5 separate regions of the Homo sapiens genome follow, and all the other regions are linked to region 2. The links are contacts of gene promoters, found by promoter capture Hi-C in blood cells and fetal thymus (Javierre and others, 2016). All regions are on one chromosome and are shown on one strand. The core of a region is centred on a gene start or on the middle of the fragment in contact, and the rest is flanking DNA. Distances in the headings are between cores, read along the strand shown. Region 1 has its middle 2.5 kb from the start of CFAP54. Region 2 holds the start of CCDC38 (coiled-coil domain containing 38). Region 3 overlaps CFAP54 (cilia and flagella associated protein 54). Region 4 has its middle 1.5 kb from the start of NR2C1. Region 5 overlaps CFAP54 (cilia and flagella associated protein 54).

Evidence for each region. Contacts are between HindIII fragments. The CHiCAGO score rates a contact against its expected background, and 5 or more counts as called.
Region 1: a contact is called between a fragment that was not itself captured here and the fragment with the promoter of CCDC38 in region 2, in 6 of 17 cell types (fetal thymus, activated CD4 T cells, non-activated CD4 T cells and 3 more). The highest score is 9.5, in fetal thymus.
Region 3: a fragment that was not itself captured here is called in contact with the fragment with the promoter of CCDC38 in region 2 in 8 of 17 cell types (activated CD4 T cells, fetal thymus, total CD8 T cells and 5 more); the score reaches 12.1 in activated CD4 T cells.
Region 4: a fragment that was not itself captured here is called in contact with the fragment with the promoter of CCDC38 in region 2 in 1 of 17 cell types (fetal thymus); the score reaches 5.8 in fetal thymus.
Region 5: a contact is called between a fragment that was not itself captured here and the fragment with the promoter of CCDC38 in region 2, in 8 of 17 cell types (fetal thymus, activated CD4 T cells, naive CD8 T cells and 5 more). The highest score is 9.4, in fetal thymus.

The regions. Positions count from the first base shown.
Region 1 is chr12:96,485,683-96,488,382 of GRCh38, reverse strand. No RefSeq gene overlaps it. Among named protein-coding and RNA genes, the nearest start is that of CFAP54, 2.5 kb to the left of the region's middle. The HindIII fragment of the contact is 666 bases long and covers 1,040-1,705 here.
Region 2 is chr12:95,941,360-95,944,059 of GRCh38, reverse strand. CCDC38 (coiled-coil domain containing 38) reads left to right here and starts at 1,446. Exons shown (of 16, transcript NM_182496.3): 1 at 1,446-1,629. AMDHD1 (amidohydrolase domain containing 1) reads right to left here and starts at 729. Exons shown (of 9, transcript NM_152435.3): 1 at 525-729. The coding sequence starts at 661. The HindIII fragment of the contact is 1,867 bases long and covers 967-2,700 here.
Region 3 is chr12:96,521,562-96,524,261 of GRCh38, reverse strand. It overlaps CFAP54 (cilia and flagella associated protein 54), which reads right to left. Exons shown (of 68, transcript NM_001306084.2): 7 at 2,292-2,405; 8 at 2,073-2,174. Among named protein-coding and RNA genes, the nearest start is that of CFAP54, 33 kb to the right of the region's middle. RefSeq lists enhancers at 1,129-1,629, 1,630-2,130 and a silencer at 1,677-1,971. The HindIII fragment of the contact is 1,249 bases long and covers 640-1,888 here.
Region 4 is chr12:95,073,790-95,076,489 of GRCh38, reverse strand. No RefSeq gene overlaps it. Among named protein-coding and RNA genes, the nearest start is that of NR2C1, 1.5 kb to the right of the region's middle. The HindIII fragment of the contact is 2,182 bases long and covers 247-2,428 here.
Region 5 is chr12:96,502,960-96,505,659 of GRCh38, reverse strand. It overlaps CFAP54 (cilia and flagella associated protein 54), which reads right to left. Exons shown (of 68, transcript NM_001306084.2): 3 at 1,631-1,774. Among named protein-coding and RNA genes, the nearest start is that of CFAP54, 15 kb to the right of the region's middle. The HindIII fragment of the contact is 182 bases long and covers 1,282-1,463 here.

The DNA.
Region 1 (2,700 bases), core at 123-2,622, 540 kb before region 2:
CTCCAGGGAAATACTTGGGGAGTTTATTCTTAGCCTGTGTATTATAGGCAAAAGTCAGAGTTAAATTTATTAAAGTATGAGTATTGAGAAAATGGAGAACCTTCTTTTCTATAAATTATGCAACACAATAAATTATCTAAGAGAAGAACCAGAAATATTTGGTGGCTTAGAAAAATCAGTCTTTAACCCTGAAAATTGTTACCAGTTCTATCACACTTAAATAAAGACAGTGACCCTAACACCCTGTGAACCCAATTTTCCATTTCAGACTAAGAAGCTTATTGGACCACAGCCTGATATCTTTCAAGTCTGACCTAATTTTATGCAGGCTCTGTGGGCCTGTGCTAATTTGTGAGGCTGGCCTAATATGTCATGTCTACTGTACCCTAATATTCTTTGAAGGAAAATAATTTTGCTCATCGGCACAGTTAATTATAGCCAGAGAAACTTCCTGGCAAGCAGTGAGACGCAATGACACCTCACTGTAGGAGTCCAATTCTCTAATCAGGATGTAGATATCATCCTTTGATCAACAAAGATTTTATCTTGTTCTCTAAGTGAACAACAAAAATTGTAAGGCTTTAAAGAATGTAGTCCTAGAGAAATAATCACTGGGCATTTACAAAAATATTAATAGACATTTTTAAAAGTCGGCTTGGTAAATTCTCTTTTTTCTCATCTTTTTCTTGCTCTAACATGGCAGACTTGTCCATTGCAGATCAAAAACTGGTGTAATTTGCCACTGAGTGCTATCTATTATATTGATGAAAGTGAAACAGCAGGATAAAATTAATTAAAGTGGTCACAGAAAAGGAAAGAAAAAAATAAAAGACAAAGTGGTGTTTTTCCTTCTAATCTGGCTACTGTCACAAACAAACTTTATCATAGGGCAGACACTTGTATTTCAAAGTCACTGGTAAAAGAAAATGTGACTAAGCAAATTCAAATACCTGAATTATGAAACATTGCATCTTAGTCACTTTCCCCCTTGCACACACTAAAGCTAACAATGCTTAACTTGCAGTAGTTTTTGGAAGCTTGTCTGAATATTTAAATGGGTGTTATATTCTGAATCATCATTATGATAAGATGGAAGTTTACATTTTATTTAGTTTAAATTAAATTGGCTGGGTGTCGTGGCTCACGCCTGTAATCCCAGCACTTCAGGAGGCTCAGGTGGGCGAATCACTTGACGTCAGGAGTTCGAGACCAGCCTAGCCAACATGTTGAAATCCCGTCTCTACTGAAAACACAAATATTAGCTGGGCGTGGTGTCGGACACCTGTAATCCCAGCTACTCAGGAGACTGAAGCAGGAGAATCGCCTGAACCCGGGAGGTGGAGGTTGCAGTGAGCCGAGATCATGCCACTTCACTCCAGCCTTAGCGACAGAGCTAGACCCCATCTCAAAATAAATAAATAAATAAATAAATAAATAAATAAATAAATAATAAAAATAAAATAAATAAATTGAATTTGAGGCATTTTTAACATTTTAGAGGTGTTATCTTCCTTGTAATTAGATGCAGCCATTATAATATCTTTCTCTTTCCTTGTCACTTTGCTTTATTCTTCTCACTGTAATGAAAGAATGGAGCTGTGCAACTACTGTGTCTGACAAGCCTAAGTACTGTAAATAGCTTCCTTATAAATAATGTAAATTGCTATTTCTTATAATTAACATCTTCGCAGGCTGCAGGGAAGCTTTTTGCCCATTCGAAAGTCTTTTTTATCTAAAGCTACTGACTGTTAAAGAATATGCAAGGTTAGTGCTCTTTCAATTCTCAATTTAGTTGTTAATCATTTGGACTATCCCAAATAGATACAATATATATGATCTACCTAATATGTAGACTTTTTAAAACTTCTTCATCCATTTATTCAGATAAATGCAACCATTTTGTTAGTGTCCATACAAGGCATAGATGAACCCATACATTCCCTACAGGAAGCAGATAACACAAACTCAAATAATCATAATTAAAAGGCATGCTATGGATTAGCTGGACATGGTGGCATGTGCCTGTAATCCCTGCTACTTAGGAGGCTGAGGCAGGAGAATCACTTGATCCCAGGAGGCGAGGTTGCAGTGAGCCGAGATCGCGCCACTGCACCCCAGGCTGGGTGACAAAGTGAGACTCCATCTCAAAGAAAAAAAAAAAAAAGGAAAAGAAAAAGAAAGAAAGAGAGAAAAGAAAGAAAGAAAGAAAGAAAGAAAGAAAGAAAGAAAGAAAGAAAGAAAGAAAAGAAAAGAGAAAAGAAAGGAAAGGAAAGGAAAAGAAAAGAAAAGAAAAAAGAAAAGAAAAGGCATGCTGTGGAATGTGCTGTGAGAAAGGTTTTAAGAAATGTGGGACCGCCAGGTGTGGTCACTCACGCCTGTGATCTCAATACTTTGGGAGGCCGAGGTGGGTGGATTGCTTGAGGCCAGGAGTTTGAGACCAGCCTGGGCAACACAGTGAGACCCTGTCTCTGATTTTTAAAAAAAATTTTTTTAATTAGCCTGGCATGGTCACATGCACCTGAAATCCCAGCTACTCAAGAGGCTGAGGCAGAAAGATCACTTGAGCCAGGAGTTTGAGGCTGCAGTGAGCTATAATCACCCCACTGTATTCCAGTCTGAGCTACAGAGCAAGATCTTTTCTCAAAAAAAAGAGAGAGGAGGGGAGGGGCAGGGGAGGGGAGGGCAAGGGGGAAGGAAGAC
Region 2 (2,700 bases), core at 197-2,696:
GGCCATTATCGTCTAAATGTTCTCCGTGGTTCTAAAGCTTTAGTGTACGAGATCACGAGGATGTGAAAGGTACTTTTGAAAAATTCAGGTCTCAGAACTCCAGCCCCAGTGATGCTGATTCTAAAATTCTAGGGATAGGGAGTGGGGGACGCAGGTGGAATCAGAAATCTGCCGTAAGAATAAAATAACCACAGGCCACCCTGACAAAGGTGGTCTTCTGGCCTCCCTTTAAGAAGCACTGGGGAGGACCTCAACCCCTTCTGATGGTTGGACAGTGATATTTTACCAGCAGAGGCAGGACCCTGATGCGTTCCAATGGGGTGTTCCTCTCTGAGCTCTTTGGACGGAATGACAACCCCAAGCAGCAGAGCGTGTTAGCAACAGGTACCCCAAAGGCTGGCTTGCCCGTGTATCTCTGTGCAGGGACGCTTTCACGGCGTTGTTTCCCTCCAGAGTGCACAGTGAGAGGAAGAGCGGCCAGCTCCGCCCGTGGCGGTCCCCACCCTGCGCGCCCGGCCACTTACTTGCCCACCACCAGGCTGGCGCCTTCCAGCACCGCCAGGCTGCGCAGCGCATCCCGCGCCAGGAAGCGCTCGCCGCGGGCGCACACCAGCACCACTTGCTGCGCGTTCTCCAGCAGGAGGCTGTGGCCGCTTGCCATGTCGCCTCGCGCCGAGGGTCGCCGGGAGGCCACCGGGCTCGGGCCACCGGCAGGACTCAGTGGAGGACGAAAAGCCGCAGCCTGCGCTGTCCGGGGCTGGGAGGGTGGGGCGGGGGCGGGCGCTCGCAGCCGCTGCCCTTTGCTCGCCTCCCCCAACCACAGCAACGGGGGCGGTAATCATTGCAAGAATGGCAACGAGTAATAAACCTGATGAGGAATCCTCTCTTTTTTGGTCGTCTTGTCCCATCCCGAGTAAACGAGATGGAGACTAGTGTCCCTACTTTTCAGATAAGGAAACTTAAGCTTGGTCACCCCGAGAGATCAAAGTGAGCTGTGTGGATCACGTGGTATGTGGAAGCGCGTCAAGGGTTGGCTGGGTGAGGGCACCCGGAGTGTTCGGGAGTGAGGGACCGGAACCTGGGGTAGAGCCCCGGAAGGGGGGCCATGGGGGAAACCTCTGCCCGGGGGGTTGGGGTGGGAGCCTGGAGATAGCGCTCCTGGAGAGGGCAGAGTAGGGGAAAGCTGTGCCCAGGGGCAGGGACGGGAGCTTGGAGGTAGAGCCCCGGGAGAGGACAGAGTGGGGGAAACCTCTGCCTAGGGTGCTGGGACGCGAGCCTGGAGGCAGAGCCCCGGGAGGGTACTGCGTGGAGGAAACATCTGCCCACAGGTTCTGGGGCGGGAGCCCGGGACGCGGAGGGCCGCGAGCCGAGGGAACCTGGGGGTGGGGAGGAGGGGGATGCGGTAGGGGAGGTGCTCCTGGGTCCGCGCGGGTGGCGGGTGCCCCGCACTTATCCGTTGGCCAGCTGCGTTCCGGGATCAGCTACCAGACGGTCCCTGAGATGACCGGGAACCGGGCTGGGGGAGGATAGAGCCGAGACTGGAGGATCGATTGGCACCTCCGCCCACTTTTCCCACAACGCCTTCCCGAACGATAGGTTGGAAAGGCTCCTGGATCCAAACTCGCTGAGGTAAAATAGGTTTCAGCTCAGTGTCCGCCCCTCCGCATGCCCCCTCCCACCCCTCAGCTGTGTCTGGTGGGCCTACAAGCAACTTGCGACCAAAATTGGAGACAGAATCAAGTTTATGGAAGATGGTCTGTGATTCTCAGCCTCGTCGCTTCCTGCTACCAATTGCTATGGAAACACTGCCAGGCCCAGGCTTTTGAGTCCTTAATTACTTGATTTCGTTTATTCATGTTTATCACAAGCTCTGTGTTAAGTCTTGTGGAACATACAAAGATAGGAAAGGCGCTTTCCCTGCCCAGTAAAGACTTTACAATAAAAGTGATAGATGTGGACACAAATAATATACTATAAAAGCAGACTAAGCCTGCAAACCCACAAAATATAAAAGTTAATTTAGTCTCATTAAAAAAACCTGGAACAGAAAGCAAACACTCCTTTAGATGACCACGATAAATAAGAATATAATTTAGCTTCATATTATGGCCTATAAAAGAGAGATCAGTTAGGAAAGAGAAAGATAAAAATTGGAAAATATATAGACAATGTGAGTGAAAGAGACCCTAAGGGTGGGGGGGAGGGGGCATCAGAAGATTATTCACAGCTCATATACACAATCACAAACAGGTTGTTTGTGTGTGTGTGTGCATAGCTTTTAAAAAGTTTATACATACATATATTTCTATGTCTTTAAAAAGAGAAGTAGAAATAGTGGGGAATAGAAACACATAAAGTCACTAATTCACAGAGAAATATTAAAATTTTCTATTATAAAATTTCTGCTGAAGACTTTAATCAGTTACATTTTGCAATTTTAGGCATATTTGCAGAACTATGCAATTGTATGTATAAAGGATGGGTTAAAATTATAGAAAAATAGGGTTCAATAAACTTGTCTTAGTCTGAGTTCTGTTTCCTATAAGCTGTTTGACCTTGGGGAATTTCTTTACAGTAATTTCTCGAAGCCTCGTTTTCTCATCCTCATCATAGGGAGAGCTGTTTCTACTTTATGGGCTTGTCTGAGTTTTAAATAAAATAAAACATAAATCACTTAGCCCAGTGCCCAGCTCTAAACAA
Region 3 (2,700 bases), core at 15-2,514, 580 kb before region 2:
CACATAGCAGGTACTTAAAAAATATTTATTGAATAAATCACTAACTAATCAATCATTAGGAGTCTGAATTAGTAGTCCTTTAAAAGAATCTTTTGAGAGTCAAAATGATTTACTATAAGTTAACAACTTACATACAAACCCAGAAATGTTTTAGAAAATATGTTCAATGCATATTGAAATTATTTAGTAGAAACATAATAAAATTATTTCATACACAGAAAACAGGACATTCTGCAAAATATGCCAAGGTAACATAGGATGACGTTATAAAAAGGATGTGTTGACTAGCCTCTGAAACAACTACTCACTAAACAATTACAATTTTTTCTTAAAAAAAAAAAATCACCAGAACTTTTCATTCAACAATTATCTTAAGGGAAATCAGATACAAATTAGTTTTTAATGTAATTTTATCTGGAATTTTAAACATTTTTCTTTGAAAATGTATTTAGTTTTGCTACCAGGATAACTGTTAAGTCCTAATAATATTCTAAGTAACAACAGTCTTGCAACTTTGGATATTTAAATTTGGTTGCTCAGAGAAAAAAAATGCCGGGGAGAAAAAAAAAATTGTTCCCTGTCCTTTTACAAAGACTATAGCATCACTACTTAATACCAGATGCAGGCAGCTTAAAAGCTTATCCAAGGAATTGCCTATAAATTAATTAATATACTTGCCAATTAATATACTGTTGGTTAGTAAGGGATATAGCTCAAAAGGGATGTATAAAATGTACCTGTGGGCTCAGTAGTCAATATTGTCACTAAGTAGCAATGGAAAGGTACCATGTCCAAAAACTTATTTGTATTTAAATATAGTAATTCATTTAAAAGAAAGAAAAAGGATTACTCCTAAATGTGTTAAGAAGAAATGAGGAAAGAGAGTAGCAGTGATTGGAGTAGAGGCCAAGCACTGGACTTAGAGATGCTGGTTCTGGTTCTGCCAGCGGCTGCCTTTGTGACCTTGAGCCAGTCATTTAAATATTGCAGGCTTTATTTTCCCAACTGTAATATAAAAGGACTGAACCAGATGGTTTCCCAAATCCTTTCCAGGTTCTGAGATTTGATACACCTCTTCTGTAAGAAACTGCTCACCTCCTTCCCCCCAGATTCATTTTCAATCTCTACATGGAAGCTCGCAGAAGAGGGTGTATATCCATCTAGAACAGTCAGGGAGAGCTTCAAAACGATATAGAACTGGGCCCTGGGGGATATTAAGAGTCAGGAAGGCAAAGGGAAGAAGAAGAAGAAAAAGACAAGGGGAAGAAAAAGGGCCGAGGGCCCCACAGGTGTAACTTTGCCTACTCCCTGCCCTGTGATCATCTTTACTACTGTTTGCCAAATAGGCTTGTGGTTGGGAGGGGCTGTGTGACTGGTTATGACATGTGAGAAGAACAGACTCATGTCACTTCCATGTTGAGCATCAATGCCCATGAAAGGTCCCCCAGAACTCTCTTTAATCCCCTCTGGCCAAATGACCAGCAATGTTTGAAATGAAGGCGGCTCTTCAGCCTGGCCCTGAGCAGCTTTTGTAAGGCAGAGCCCCTGATAACTAAAATAACATATGACTCCAGTAGGCAATAAATTGTTGTTTTAAGCCACCTGAGGTACGGGTGTTGTTTGTTGCTACTGGATAACCTAGCTCCTGAACATTCCCAAGGGTGAAACCTAAGGCTGATGAGAAAAGGTGCCTCCATCTTCTCCACAGCCTCAAAGCCTGCTCGCCTGCTCAGCTAACCCTAAGTGGTCAAAGACAAAGGCAAGTGCAGAACCACTCAGAGGCCTATTCATTTGCAAGAGCCAGTTCATTGAAATCTTTCACAGGCTCCTCTTCAGCCTCTTGTTCTTTAAGGCTGCAAAACTGGGATTGTGCTAAGACACAAAAGCTTTGAGAAAGAGATGAAGCGAGGCTACGTGCAAACTAGAAAAACATTCTTCTCTCTATTTACCCATTAGGGCAGAGAACTGGGGGCAGAATTTAATAATGAGTGACTAGGCTTGAAAGACATAGGAGCATAATACAAATATACTGCAAAAAGAGTCTTAAAGAGAGAAGACATGTTTAGACTTACAGTTTGTACTTCCCTTAGGTTAATTCTTATCTTAGGTCTAAAGACAGCTTTGTTTTTTCTTCTAGATTCAAAGACTCCTCTTTTGAAGATCATCACTGCCATCTGCCTCAAAAAGCAGAATTATACATGAAATAACAATGAGATGCACTTCCCAACTACTAAGTATTTAATCAGCTGTAGAGTGTGGTAAATTTCTTTTATTTCATGAAATTTTTATACCTTCATTGTGGCCTCTCGAAAATATCTTCGCGATTCTTCCTGGGATTTTGAGGAACTCATTAATTCCAGTTGCCTTAACTCATCAATTTTAGCCAAAGCACGCCGAGCAAATGCCTACATGTGATTAAAATAAATTTAATTCATAAATCAGAATATAGTGATTAAAATGTATAAAGACAATGTTTTGTTCTCCCAGGCATTTGATTTAATCTGTGAATTAAGCTCTAGGTTAATGCTGACTCCTTTTATCCAGTCTATCATTTTATTTAAGAACCACTAAACTCTCTAATAAACTGTGAATAAGGTGACTTTAGGAATTATGAAATTTTAAAAAGGAAAGCTGAAATATCACTTAAACAGTAGCTCCATACAGATTATCGCTTCTCAGCATTTGGCACCGCACGTCCTC
Region 4 (2,700 bases), core at 88-2,587, 870 kb after region 2:
CTCAACCTCCCCAAGTGCTAGGATTACAGGCGTGAGCTACTGAGCCTGGCCAGCATCATAGATTTAAAGATGAACTTCGGCTAGAGTCACACATTTAAAGATGAACTTCGGCTGGGCACGGTGGCTCATGCCTGTAATCCCAGCACTTTGGGGAGGCCAAGGCGAGCGGATCACTTGAGGTGAGGAGTTCGAGACCAGCCTGGCCAACATGGTGAAACCCTGTCTCTACTAAAAATACAAAAAGCTTAGCCAGACATTGTGGTGTGCGCCTGTAATCCCAGCTACTCGGGAGGCTGAGGCACAAGAACCTCTTGAACCCAGGTGGCGGAGGTTGCAGTGAGCTGAGATCAAGCCACTGCACTCCAGCCTGGGCAACAGAGTGAGACTCTGTCTCAAAAATAAATAAACTTCATTTACCTCTTTTCCTGAAGCATAATTAATGGAAACGCTTCTTCACCTACAAATGATGTTCCTAAAATGGCTTCTACTTCCAAGTTTTAACAAGTCAACTTATTGTGACTTAAGTGAATTAATTGGGTGATAAGGGGTAACCACAAGCATCACTATAGGCATACATATTCTCCACCAAGAATAGTGAAGAGGTCTCAGATTGCCTGTATCCATTAGGCCTATAGTGCAGTCATGCACTGCATAACAATATTTCAGTCAAGGACAGACCACATATACAATAATGGTTGCATAAGATTATAATCCCCTATTTTTACTGCACTTTTTTTTTAAAAGGACTTAGTTTACTTTTTCTATGTTTATATATATTTAGATACACAAATACCTACCATTATGTTACAACTGCCTACAGTATTCAGTAACATGCTGTACGGGTTTGTCCTAGGTTTGTGACTTAAGAGCAACAGACTACAACATACAGCCTAGGTGTGTCTAGGCTAGACCATCTAGGTTTGTATAAGTACGCTCTATGATGAGAGTAAAATGAAATTGCCTAAGGACTCATTTCTCAGAACATATCCCTGACGTGACTATACTTTCATAATTTTCACCTTTGGGACCAGCTTATGGTATTGGCAGGGGTCTCCCTTAAAACCAAACCAAATACACAACAAATAATGCTAAAAGGTAGAGGTTGGAAAAAAAAAAAAGTTTCACTCTCGCCCAGGCTGGAATGCAATGGTGCCAACACTGGACCAGACTCCTGGGCTTAAGCAATCCTCCCACCTCAGCCTCCTCAGTAACTAGGAATACAGGCCTGCACCACCATGCCTTTTTTTTTTCTTTTTTTTTTAAGAGATGGAGTCTCACTATGTTGCCCAGGCTGGTCTCAAACTCCTGGCATCAAGCAAGCCTCCTACCTCAGCCTCCCAAGGCTCTGGGGGCAGAAGCCACTGTGCTCAGCAGAGGTGGATTTTTAATGAGGGATAAAGCATATTTTTACTTGTTAGGGATTGTTTCATGCCTTGATCTCTGTCCGTCTGCCTAGTTCCAGAGAGAAATAACAGAGATGTTCTCATTCCCAGCAAACGTTTGTTTTTCCTTCCTTGGATTTCTGCCCTGAGTTTGTGGCTGCTTTCCTACAGTGCCGACCTAAGCTAGATAAAATAGAAATTTCATGACAAAACAAAGGAGATTTAAAAAAAAACTAGAAATTTCAAGAATGCTTCAAAATCTAAAGCGCAGAGTACTTTGCACACAGGGCAGTTATTCCTGCCACACCTTGCCACTACAGGTGGCCACTGTCAGAATGCGATGTTCCACCAATGTCTCTTCATTTCACAATTTGAAAAATTTTTTTTGTGGAGGCAGGGTTTTGTTATCTTGCCCAAGCCGGTCTCCAACTGCTGGCCCCAAGTGATCTTTCCTTGGCCTCCCAGCAGCCACTTGCCTGGCTTTCATTTCATACATCATTATTGAATAGCAGGCATTGTCCTATGTGCTTGGTAATACATCACTGAGCAAAACAGACAAAAAACGGCCATTGAGGATAATCCTCAATATATAATAATATATATATTATAGAGAGGATGTGGAATATACATATATATGTGTGTGTGTATATATAGAGAGAGAGAGAAAGACTCATTGTGTCACCCAGGCTGGAGTGCGGTGGTGTGATCTTGGCTCACTGCCGTCTTGACTCAGGTGATCCTCCCACCTCAGCCTCCAAGTAATTGGGACGACAGGCACGCGCCACCAGGACTGGCTAATTTTTTTGTAGAGACGGGTTTTCGCCATGTTGGCCAGGCTGGCCTCAAACAACCGGGCTCAAGTGATCCGTCCGCCTCGGCCTCCCAACTTGCTGGGATTACAGGCGTGAGCTACCGTGCCCAGTCTCTAGTGATTATATTCTTGCCCTGTTTAGCCATTATGTCTCTTTACTCACAACAGTTTATAAGTGAAACTTTGCCTTACCATTTGCATGAGTCGGCCTCAGCTTGTCATTATATATAAAGCTTACTAATGTAAATGACGAGTTAATGGGTGCAGCACACCAACATGGCACATGTATACATATGTAACGAACCTGCACGTTGTGTACATGTACTCTAGAACTTAAAGTGTAATACAAAAAAAAAAAAGTTTAAATATGATTGGACTCTACCCCAGAGCCCAGTTTTCCAGAAATTAGAAACAGATATGCCTAAGACCCAGAGGGTTATTTATTACTCAAATCTAAAACGTTGACTCAAAACCTCCCCTAATGCCCACCTTTGGCAAACGATGCTT
Region 5 (2,700 bases), core at 123-2,622, 560 kb before region 2:
ATGATGGTGCGCACCTGTAATCCCAGCTACTCAGGAAGTTGAGGCAGGTGAATCACTTGGGCCCAGGAGGCGGAGGCTGCAGTGAGCCAAGACTGCACCACTGCACTCCAGCTTGGGCAACAGAGTGAGCCTCGGTCTCAAAAAAAAAAAAAAAAAAGTGAGGCTATTATAGGGGTGACCCAGGCTCAGAAAAAGAGAGAGAGCATTCCATGTATTCCAAGGAATTTGGACTTTAGCCAAAAGGCAAAGTCAATGGGTAGTGGAACAAAATGACAGGTTTCTACTTTAGAAATTAATTGGCCAGGCACGGTGGCTCACACCTGTAATCCCAGCACTTTGGGAGGCCAAGGAGAGTGGATCATGAGGTCAGGAGTTTGAGACCACCCTGACCGACATGGTGAAACCCCATCTCTACTAAAAATACAAAAATTAGCCGGGCATGGTGGTATGCGCCTGTAATCCCAGCTACTAAGGAGGCTGAGGCAGGAGAATTGCTTGAACCTAGGAGGCAGAGGTTGCAGTGAACTGAGATCATGCCACTGCACTCCAGCCTGGGCAACAGAACAAGACTCCAAAAAAAAAAGAAGAAAAGAAAGGAAAGAAAGGAAGAAAGGAAGAAAAGAAAGAAAGAGAAGAAAAGAAAAAGAAAGAAAGAAAGAAAGAAAAAGAAAGAAGAAAGAAAGGGAAAGAAAGAAAGAAAGAAAGAAAAAGAAAGAAAGAGGAAGAAAGAAAAATAAATTCTGGCAAAATATGAAAAGCAAAAAGCAGAAGGTAGGGGGTCAAGGCTACAAAAAGGGGAGTAGGAGAGACCTTTTCCCTAACAGGGTGCCAACCTACATCGCCCAGTATTCTCATTCACGTACCTATGGTACAGCCAAATTGAACTGTTCAATTGTCTCCCAAACATGCCTTAAGAGTTTCTGCTTATTAACCACATACGGGTCCCAAACCCTTGAATAGTCCTCAAGTTTGAAGTAACATAGATTTAGAGTCAGACTGATCAGGGTTCAAACACCAACCCTGCCCATTGCTTTAAGTGGGCTAATAAACTTCCATTTCCTAACCTGTAAAAGAGGCACCTCTTAGGACTTTAATGAGGCTGCAAGATGATAATTCATACAATGTATTTAGAAGAGTACTCAGCACATGAAAACTGCTCAACCAGTGAATCAATGGTAGTAATTAACAAAATACTGGTATACTAGAAATAAAGTATAAATATTTTATATCAATAGATTTATGTTTAATCTTGAGTCGCTTTTTTATACTATGTGATAAGCTTTATTTTTCTCTTCTGTAAAATAGGGATAATAGTATGTAACTCATAAAATTACTTTATCAAATTTGTTTTCCAAAGCACTTTATAAACTAAATGCACTCTACAAGTATTAGTTATTAAATAACAACTGCTACATGAATGAGTGACTGCAGTGACTTAATCTCCAAAGCATCCTTACAAAGCTTGATAAGTTCACTTTCTTATCCAGCACTGAAAGTATTTATTAAGCAACTTATAGCACACAGCTAGATGCTATGCTAAGCCAACAAGACATTTAGAAGCTGTCAACTAAAAGATACATTGTATAGCTAATCATAAATTGTAGCTATTTCAGCTGCTCTTTCATCTTACTGTAAGTCCAGCAGTTTTATCTTTAAAGCCTTTTGGGAAAAAGGTAGCTTTGAATTGAGTTACATCCACTTTATTCTCATCAAAATTGGTATTGAACTGCTGAAGATATCTTCCATAGCATTGTAAAAGGGCCAGTTTGTATTCCTGAAACAAAAGGAGTACTTGATTAAAGTTCCAAAATATCATTTAGCTTATCATTATTAGGTAATATTCATATTATTCCTAATAGTATCAAGGTTGATTATTACAATTATACCATTACTACTGGCTCCATTTTCCAAAAACATAGTATGTGAGAGACACTGCACTATACAATGTATGTGCATTATTTCATCTAATTCTCCTCACAATGAGCCTATGTGAGATGGGACCATCATGACCACAAGGATGAGAATATTTACTATGGCACTGTGCATGGTAATACCTACAAATACTCAAAACCCAGGTTCCAAAATTCAGCATCATCAGATCATGGTAACCCACATACCTAGAGAGGTGGATGAGTAGTCTTGCTTCTCTGATACCTCATAGGCTCGAAAAAGAAAAGAAACGAAGAGCGAGCGAGCGAGAGAGAAACAAAGGAAGGAAGGAAAGAAGGAAGGGAGGGAGGGAGGGAGGGAGAGAGGAAGGGAGGAAGGGAAAGGAAGGAAGGAGGGAAGGGAGAGAGGGAGGGAGGAAGGCAGGAAGGAAGGAAGGGAAAGAAGGGGAAGGGAAAGGAAAGGAAAAGAAAAGGGAAGAGAAGGGGAAAGGAAAGGAAGGGGGAAGAAAGGAAGTGAAAGAGAGAGAGAGAAAGAAAGGAAGGAAAAAAAAGGAAAGGAAAGGAAGAAAGAGAAAGAAAGGGAGGGAAGGAGGAAGGAAAAAATAAAGGGAGGGAGGGAAAGAAAGAAAGAGGAGAGAGAGAAAGCGAGAAAGAAGGAAGGAAGGAGAGAGAGAGAAAGAAAGAAAGAGAAAGAAAGAAAGAGAGAGAGAGAAAGGAAGGGAGGGAGAGAGGAAGGAAAGGAAGGGAGAGGGAGGGAGAGAGGAAGGAAGAGAGGAAGAAAGAGGGAACCAAAGAAGAGAAAATAAAAGAA